3 separate regions of the Homo sapiens genome follow, and all the other regions are linked to region 2. The links are contacts of gene promoters, found by promoter capture Hi-C in blood cells and fetal thymus (Javierre and others, 2016). All regions are on one chromosome and are shown on one strand. Each heading gives the region's core, a stretch centred on a gene start or on the middle of the fragment in contact. The rest is flanking DNA. Distances are from core to core; before and after follow the strand shown. Region 1 overlaps SPMIP6 (sperm microtubule inner protein 6). Region 2 holds the start of RPP25L (ribonuclease P/MRP subunit p25 like). Region 3 overlaps FAM219A (family with sequence similarity 219 member A).

What was found. The method cuts DNA at HindIII sites, captures the fragments that hold promoters and counts their contacts. A CHiCAGO score of 5 or more calls a contact.
Region 1: a fragment that was not itself captured here is called in contact with the fragment with the promoter of RPP25L in region 2 in 2 of 17 cell types (M2 macrophages and endothelial precursors); the score reaches 5.3 in M2 macrophages.
Region 3: a contact is called between a fragment that was not itself captured here and the fragment with the promoter of RPP25L in region 2, in 1 of 17 cell types (M2 macrophages). The highest score is 5.5, in M2 macrophages.

The regions. Positions count from the first base shown.
Region 1 is chr9:34,383,614-34,386,313 of GRCh38, reverse strand. It overlaps SPMIP6 (sperm microtubule inner protein 6), which reads left to right. Exons shown (of 7, transcript NM_032596.4): 2 at 533-677. The region is part of intron 1 of LOC124902144 (a long non-coding RNA gene); the gene reads right to left. Among named protein-coding and RNA genes, the nearest start is that of MYORG, 8.1 kb to the right of the region's middle. The HindIII fragment of the contact is 5,604 bases long and covers 1-2,700 here.
Region 2 is chr9:34,610,804-34,613,503 of GRCh38, reverse strand. It overlaps RPP25L (ribonuclease P/MRP subunit p25 like), which reads left to right and starts at 1,407. Exons shown (of 2, transcript NM_148178.3): 1 at 1,407-1,440; 2 at 2,172-2,700. The coding sequence starts at 2,208. The coding sequence ends at 2,699. RefSeq lists enhancers at 606-655, 783-832, 1,936-2,489 and a silencer at 1,233-1,472. The HindIII fragment of the contact is 14,389 bases long and covers 1-2,700 here.
Region 3 is chr9:34,433,098-34,435,797 of GRCh38, reverse strand. All of the region lies in intron 1 of FAM219A (family with sequence similarity 219 member A), which reads left to right. Among named protein-coding and RNA genes, the nearest start is that of FAM219A, 24 kb to the left of the region's middle. The HindIII fragment of the contact is 8,827 bases long and covers 1-2,700 here.

The DNA of each region.
Region 1 (2,700 bases), core at 124-2,623, 230 kb after region 2:
GGGAATTACATTTTAAAGTAGGTGCCCCTCCAGCACTGTCCTTCATTTTCTTTAAGATGCTAGATTCCCAGAGAGCCTTTCCTGTCCAAGACACCTACATAAGGCAGCCAGCTCCCAGGGTAGCCCTCTTTTCTGAGACTGGGGCCTGATGCACTGTTGGCAGAGACCCAGCCCTGCTCCCAGGCAGCATACAGTCTAGGAGAAAAAGGACAGGTATATGTAGCTCTGACCTTCATGAGCTCCCCACCAGGAAATGGCAGAAATGAGAAAGTCAGAAAACTACTCTGACGTAAGGCCACCGCTCGGCCCCAAGCCCTAGCCTTGGATGAAAAGAAAGGAGGAAAGGGTAATTCAGACAAGAGCACTGTGCAGAGGAGCCAAGGCTAGCATGGGAATCCCTCTGACATGGGGAGGGGGGTTGGGAGACCCACCTGGGCTGACCTTCTCAAGAGAGGCTGGATCTAGTTCCAGCAAGACCCCAGGGCTGGGGTCTCTGTGCCCCTAACCACTTCTCTCCTCTCCCCTTGCCCAGGGTCTGACTCATACCATGGAGCGACATGTGGATCCCGAAGCCCTGCAGAAGATGGCCAAATGTGCTGTACAGGACTACACTTATAGGGGGTCCATATCAGGCCACCCCTACTTGCCTGAGAAGTACTGGCTTTCTCAAGAGGAAGGTAAGGCCTCACCCTTTGCTGACCCCTAAAATGACCCCCAACCTGAACCCAACCACCTGGATCGTGACCTCTATCCTTTTTTTTTTTTTTTTTTTTTTTTTGAGACGGAGTTTCGCTCTTGTTGCCCAGTCTGGGTGCAATGGCATGATCTCGGCTCACTGCAACCCACTTCCACCTCCCAGGTTCAAGTGATTTTCCTACCTTAGCCTCCTGAGTAGCTGGGACTACAGGCATGTGCCACCAGGCCCGGCTAATTTTTGTATTTTCAGTAGAGATGGGGTTTCACCATGTTGGCCAGGCTGGTCTCGAACTTCTGACCTCAGGTGATCTGCCCGCCTCGGCCTCCCAAAATGCTGGGATTACAGGCCTGAGCCACCATGCCCAGCCTCCATCCTGATTCTATGTCAACTTTATCTCCACCCATGACCTAGATTTCTTCCCTAACCACCCCCTCCACCAACCACCTGACCTGACCCTGGCCCTGGAGGAGATGACCTAGGCCCTGCTTTTTGGGGTTCTTGTCGGTGGAAAAAAAAACCTGGAAGGGCCCTGGGTCCCATCCTTAGCGAGTTGGAGAAAGGATTAACCTCCCACAGACAGATCCCTCCAAGTGCATTCCAGATACCATCTCCTCCCATCTTCCCAGCCATCCTGCTCCCATCAGCTCCCTCCACCTCTCCTGCATCCCTCTGCCCCACCACACCTCTTTCCCTCAACCTGGAACCTTCTCTAGTTTCTTCCCAACTAAAAATTATCTCTTGCTCCTGTTCTCAACAGCCTAGGTTCTCGGAAACATGGTCCATACTCACTGTCTCTATTTCCTCACCCTTTCTTATACCTTATGAGAAACTGTCTTTCTCATTTGCTTGGATATAATATAATCTGTCTGGCTGTACATTCGAAAAGAGCCGAGTCTGGTCTTATTCACAGCTGTGCCCCTCCATCGAGCACAGCACCAGGCTTCATAAGTCTTTGTTGAATGGACTGAGAATTCCCAATGGAAGTTGGGAATGTGCATCTCCTATGATGAAACAATAAATTGCTCTTGCATGGCTCTGATTACCAAATCCACAGGACTCTGCAGTCTTTACCCTCTGAGACCTTTACCCTCCTAGACCAATGAATTGCACTCTTCTGACCACTCTCTACTCGTTTTGTTGTTGATGTTGTTTTGTATGTTAATCCTCCAGCACACAGGCTATGACCACACTCTACTTCTTGAAACAACTTCCTCCTCAGCTTCTCTGATGCCTCCCTTTCCTGTGCATCCACTGTGGAAACATGGGGTTCCTCAGGGTGTTATCCTGCACCCTCTTCTCCCCTTGCTCCTCCTCCAAGGCCATTTGATTTAACACAAGCCTTTAATTACTGACAGCTTCAAATCCTAATTTCCAGATTTGTCCTCTCATCAGAATTCCACTCTTCTTCATATGCTTATAGTCATCTTGATCTGGATGTCCCCAAACACCTCAGTTTCAGTATGTGCAAACTGCCATCCCCGAACTCCAAATCCCAGCACTGCACCCCTCCCCTCAGACAGCTGCTCTTCGCTAGGGCTTCCTCCACACCGTGTCGCATATGTATTCTTTCAGACTGTTGGATCATGGAGGGCCTTGTAGGACAGGCTTAGGTGACTGGGGGCTAAGGCAGACAAACCCTATAGGGTTTTAAGTAGGAGGGTGTCTTGGTCAAATTTTCATTTGTGAAAAGTACCACAGGTGCTATGTCAAGGCTGGATTATAGGATTTCAAAGGTGAGGCAAGGATAACAGTAGAATAATCATAATAGTTTTTTATGTGCCAAGCATCATTCTAAATGTCTTACATATACTAACTCACTTAAACCTCACAGCAACCCTGTGAAGTAAATGGTACTATTATCCCCATTTTAAAGTTGGAGAAACTGAGACACATCAAAATTAATTAATTCAGTCAGGGTCACACAGATAATAATTGTAAAACTGAAATTTAAACACAAGCAGTCTATCTGCAGAGATAGGTATCTATTAACCAAGACATTATAT
Region 2 (2,700 bases), core at 158-2,657:
GCAGAGGTGTCAGCCTGCCTAATCGTTTGACTGGGAACTAAACTCATCCTGGTCTGGCTTTCTGGCAGGTGTAGAGCTCTCAAAATGAAGGCTCTCATTTGATTATGTGAATAGGATATTCCTTTATGTATCCATTTATCCCACATTTACCAATAAGAGACCTCCAAATGTCAGATGATGGGAGTAGATAGGGCTAATCCCTGCCCTGCACGGGCTAGCAGGATAGACAGTAAAGGAAAAGGGCAGTCCTATCAGGTGGACACAGAAGAAAAAAGGGACTGAAGGGACCTGGTAAGTGATATCCAGGGACTTTCAGAGCCAAGGGAGCAGCATGTGCAAAGGCCTTTAAATTTCTCTCTTGGGAGCCTACCTGCTGCCACGAGCCGAGAAGGGCAGCCTAAGAGGTTTGGATGCAGGAAGTTTTGGTCCTGGGGAGGGGAAGTTGGGAAGTAGGGGCGCTGGGGCAAGCATGTTGAGAAACAGATTGGCACCGTAGTCCACCAAATGTTTGCTGCCCCCTTGTGGTCTCAGGGAGTGCTCTGGCTCCAGACCCTTTTTCCAACGGCCCATTGGCCGCCCCGCCTTTGCGACCTCTCCGGCACCTCAAATTCAGCGTGTCCAAACCGATCTGAAACCTGGGAGTCACCCTAGATCGGAATTTCCTACTTCTCCGTCCAAACAGTGGCCAACTCGTCACTGAACCTACTAGTATCTCCCAACTTAATCTTTTTTCCATTCCCACCGCGATTTCTCTGGTTCATTAATGTAACAAATCATTTAACAAATATTGAGCGCCGGTCATACGCCAGGCACCATACTAGGCTCCGTGGGCACCCCCGCCCCCTCAGCCCCCAGACTCCGCGGCAGGTGTCGTCAGGGGCTGTGGCCCGATTTCCCCACCACTCCCTCCTCGGCTCCCTGCACAAGATCTGGTTCGACTGGCCCCTGGAAAACCCGGAAAACCCCCGTGGTCCGCCAGCGCCCACAGGATGAGGTCGAAGCTCAGAAGTCGGTAACTAAGGCTCTCGCCCATGCAACAGCAGCCACTACAAACTGAAGCCTTTGTTCGCACCCACGGTGAAACCCACAGCTCCCCGTTTGCTCAACAGCTAACGCCAGCCCTCCCATCTTCTAAGGGCCAGATCCCCCTCCTTCAGACGCAGGACTTCCCCGACGGCCGCTCCTTTCTACCGCAGGGAACTGTCCTGCCTCCCTCCGGGGCGTAACAGCGGAGGCTGCGCTCGTGTTCCCATCCCCGCTGGGACTGGTCCGGGGCGCTCTGGCCAGCGGGTTGTTTCCGCGGCGGAGATGCCTCGGGGCCCGTCCCTCACGCCCCGCCCCTCACGCCCCGCCCCCTCGGGGCGTGCGCGGCCCCGCGGCCTTAGTGCGCTCCGGGCCCGCGCGCCATCTTGGCTCCGGATCGTGCGTGAGGCGGCTTCGGTGAGAGCCGGAACCGGGCGGGCAGAGGGGCGCTCGTAGGGTTGGGGGACGCCTGTGGCTTGGCTGCAGCGGCCGGCAAGACCCTGGAAGAGACCGTGGCTATGGAAACGGCCAAGGCTGTCTTGGAATGTCCTGAGCAGCCCTCCGAGTCGAGCCTCTGCCCCCGAGTTTCTGAGTGACCTGGGTTGATATAGATTGACCTTGGTAATCTCTGGGAGAGGGGATCCGTTCTGTTTGGGGGCAGCACTGGATAAGGGTTCTTGGCTGTTTCCCGGGGGGCCTGGGGCGAAGGGCCTTGTCCCTGTCCTTGTAGAGCCCCAAGTGAGGAGCGCTCTCTATTGGTATTAGTCTGGGGTGAGGGTTCCAGGCCCTGTTCCAAGGAGCCCAGGATAAGGGGGGCTAAGCCCCAGTCCTGGAGAGTTTAGGATGAGGGGGCCTGGCACTTTCCCAAAGAGCTCAGTGTTTGGGGAATGTGATCCTGCCTCTTGGACTCCAGGATTGGAGGTGGGGGTGTTATGGCCCTTGTAGAGGAACGGGGTGTATGGGGTACAGCCCTTTCCCAGACTGCGGCAGGCATGGACCTTGTCACGAGATGCTAAGGACAAGGGGACATGATCCTGTTTCTGGGAAGTCTGGAACGGGGAGCAGGGCCATATCCTGGATGGAGATAGGGGATGGTGGACAGTGACTTGGGGCACATTGCTTAGCACTTACCTGATGCTTCCCTGCAGTGGGCAGCGAGAGTCACAGACAAGACAGCAAGCAGGATGGAGCACTACCGGAAAGCTGGCTCTGTAGAGCTCCCAGCGCCTTCCCCAATGCCCCAGCTACCTCCTGATACCCTTGAGATGCGGGTCCGAGATGGCAGCAAAATTCGCAACCTGCTGGGGTTGGCTCTGGGTCGGTTGGAGGGCGGCAGTGCTCGGCATGTAGTGTTCTCAGGTTCTGGCAGGGCTGCAGGAAAGGCTGTCAGCTGCGCTGAGATTGTCAAGCGGCGGGTCCCAGGCCTGCACCAGCTCACCAAGCTACGTTTCCTTCAGACTGAGGACAGCTGGGTCCCAGCCTCACCTGACACAGGGCTAGACCCCCTCACAGTGCGCCGCCATGTGCCTGCAGTGTGGGTGCTGCTCAGCCGGGACCCCCTGGACCCCAATGAGTGTGGTTACCAACCCCCAGGAGCACCCCCTGGCCTGGGTTCCATGCCCAGCTCCAGCTGTGGCCCTCGTTCCCGAAGAAGGGCTCGAGACACCCGATCGTGAA
Region 3 (2,700 bases), core at 82-2,581, 180 kb after region 2:
TCAGGGAGGACTGATTTAATAAATCATGGTACCTCCATCCCATAGCATACATATGGGCAGCCTTTTAAAAGGAGGATGTAAATCTAATATGAATTGACATAAAAAGATATTCATGATAGATGCATTTCATTGTGGTAAAGCGCACATAACACAAAAGTTACTGAGTAAAATACATATGGAAGATGGATCATCTGATTCCATGTATGTTTAAATTGGTATATATGATTACATATCTTTAAAGTCTGGAAGTATAAAATAAACTGGCAACAGTAATGAATTATAGGAGAACTTTCATGTTCTGTATTCACCTTTTTGCATTTGAATTTGTTATGACAAAACAGCATCACCTTTTTCTTTGAATTTTTTTCTATTTGGGGAAACAAATGGTCAAAAATCATGATCTTTGACTCTATCATTTTTTCCCAGGTGATAGAGCTCATGCTTTCCATATTTTTAAATTGGGTATGCATACCAAAAGGGGGTAAGATGAATTGAGTGTGGAAATGCTGCCAGAGACCTGTGTGTCACTTGTCTAAACAATCTTGTTCCTGCTATGCACCCCAGCTTTGACATGCCACACTTGACTCACATCTTCCCAATTCCTTCTCAAGTTCTACAGAGCCCTGTAGCTTCTAGGAGGCAGGGCATTTCTTTGGAAACAGAAAATCATCAACACTGGCCAGGCACAGTGGCTCAGGCCTGTAATCCCAGTACTTTGGGAGGCTGAGGCAGGCAGATCACTTGAGCTCAGGAGTTCAAGACCAGCCTGGCCAACATAGTGAAACCCCATCTCCACCAAAAATACAAAAAGTTAGCCAGATGTGGTGGCACATGCCTGTAGTCCCAGCTACTTGGGAGGCTGAGGCAGGAGGATCACTTGAGCCCAGGAGGTGGAGGTTACAGTGAACTGAGATCCCACCACTGCACTCCAGTCTGGGTGACAGAGTGAGACTCTGTCTCAAAAAAAAAGAAAGAAAGAAAGAAAACCATCAACATTGAGCAGATACCTTCCTGTTTCTTACTCCCTGTTGAGAGATCTCCTACAGTTCCACTTTCACCATATAAGAAAAGGAAAGCAAGGGGACAAATTTACTCTCACATTCCCCAAGGTAAAACTATGATCACTAATATTTGAATGTTCTGGATGGTTCTCTTTGGCTTCTGGCCTTCCTCCCATTAGTGTTGTCTCTTGTTGTGTTATCGTTTTCTGTATGGCCATTTTATGTGGTAAAGTAGGAAAGGGACCAGGAAACTTGGGGCCCAGTTCTGGATATGGGACTTCAGGGGAGTTACTCAGCTTTATAGGGCTTCAGATTCTTTTTCTCTGTAAAATTGAGATAAATGATAGATGGATTATCAGAGATTAAATGAAATAAAATGAGGAAAAAGCCTTGAAATTTTAAGTTGCAATATAAAAATAAATATCTATATTTTCTGAATTTAACCTTTTCTGATTTGTATTGTAAACTCTTATGTCAAGAAGCATGTCTCTAAATCTGTTTACTGTGGTATAGCAATTTAATAGGAAGATTGGAGAGATACTGAAGAATCTGGAGAGGCCACTTCATTCTTTTTTTTTTTTTTTTTTTTTTTTTTGAGACGGAGTCTAGCTCTGTTGCCCAGGCTGGAGTGCAGTGGCGCGATCTTGGCTCACTGCAAGCTCCGCCTCCCGGGTTCACGCCATTCTCCTGCCTCAGCCTCCCGAGTAGCTGGGACTACAGACGCCCGCCACCACACCCAGCTAATTTTTTGTATTTTTAGTAGAGACGGGGTTTCACCGTGTTAGCCAGGATGGTCTTGATCTCCTGACCTTGTGATCCGCCCGCCTCGGCCTCCCAAAGTGCTGGGATTACAGGCATGAGCCACCGCGCCCGGCCGAGGCCACTTCATTCTTAAAACCAACCTGAGCAACGGGGAGGGCAGAGGAGAGTCGGAGGCTTATTTCCTACTTGATTCACTTCTGTATTGTGTTACTTTCCCCATTGAATATGCATTACCTTTATAAGTTAAGGAAACCAATACAGATTTTTTTTAATGGCTTAAAATGATACAGTCAGTCTGGATATAGAAATTGGAAGTCATCTGCATAGAGGGCTGACAGTTAGGGCAAAGAGATCAAAGGATTTAGAAAGATGGCAGTTGGAGGAGCAGCCAGATTGGCAAACTGGGGTCATGTTTTTAAAACTTATTGGATGTCAGGTTGAGGAGTTTTTAAGTGGTAGGAGCTATCAGAAGGTCTTGAGCAAAGGAGTACTGCAATAAGAGCAGTGTTTAATTCTCAGAAGAGTCTTTTAACAGTAATATACAAGATGAGTTGGAGGAAGAGGAGACAAGGTGGGGAGATGAGTGGGTTACTACTGCAGTGATCCTGGAATATGCTGAGAAGGGCCTGAAGCAGGTTGTTGGCTGATAATTTTTTTTAAAGATAAACATTAGATATTCTGCAGAACCTTCTAGGTTCATGATTAGTTTCCCATAGAGATAAAGGAGGAAGAAGTAGATCAAAATGAGCCCACAGGGAGGTTAAAACAGGAGCCAACCTGAAAGTGTTCTCAATGGCCAAAGCTGGAAACATTTGAGCAACAAAACAAATATGATAATATTGGATTATAACCTCCCAAAATAAGTATACATTAATCCATACTGATATAAATACATGATTGAATAAATAAGTAAATGGAGGAGAAAGGACAAATATTT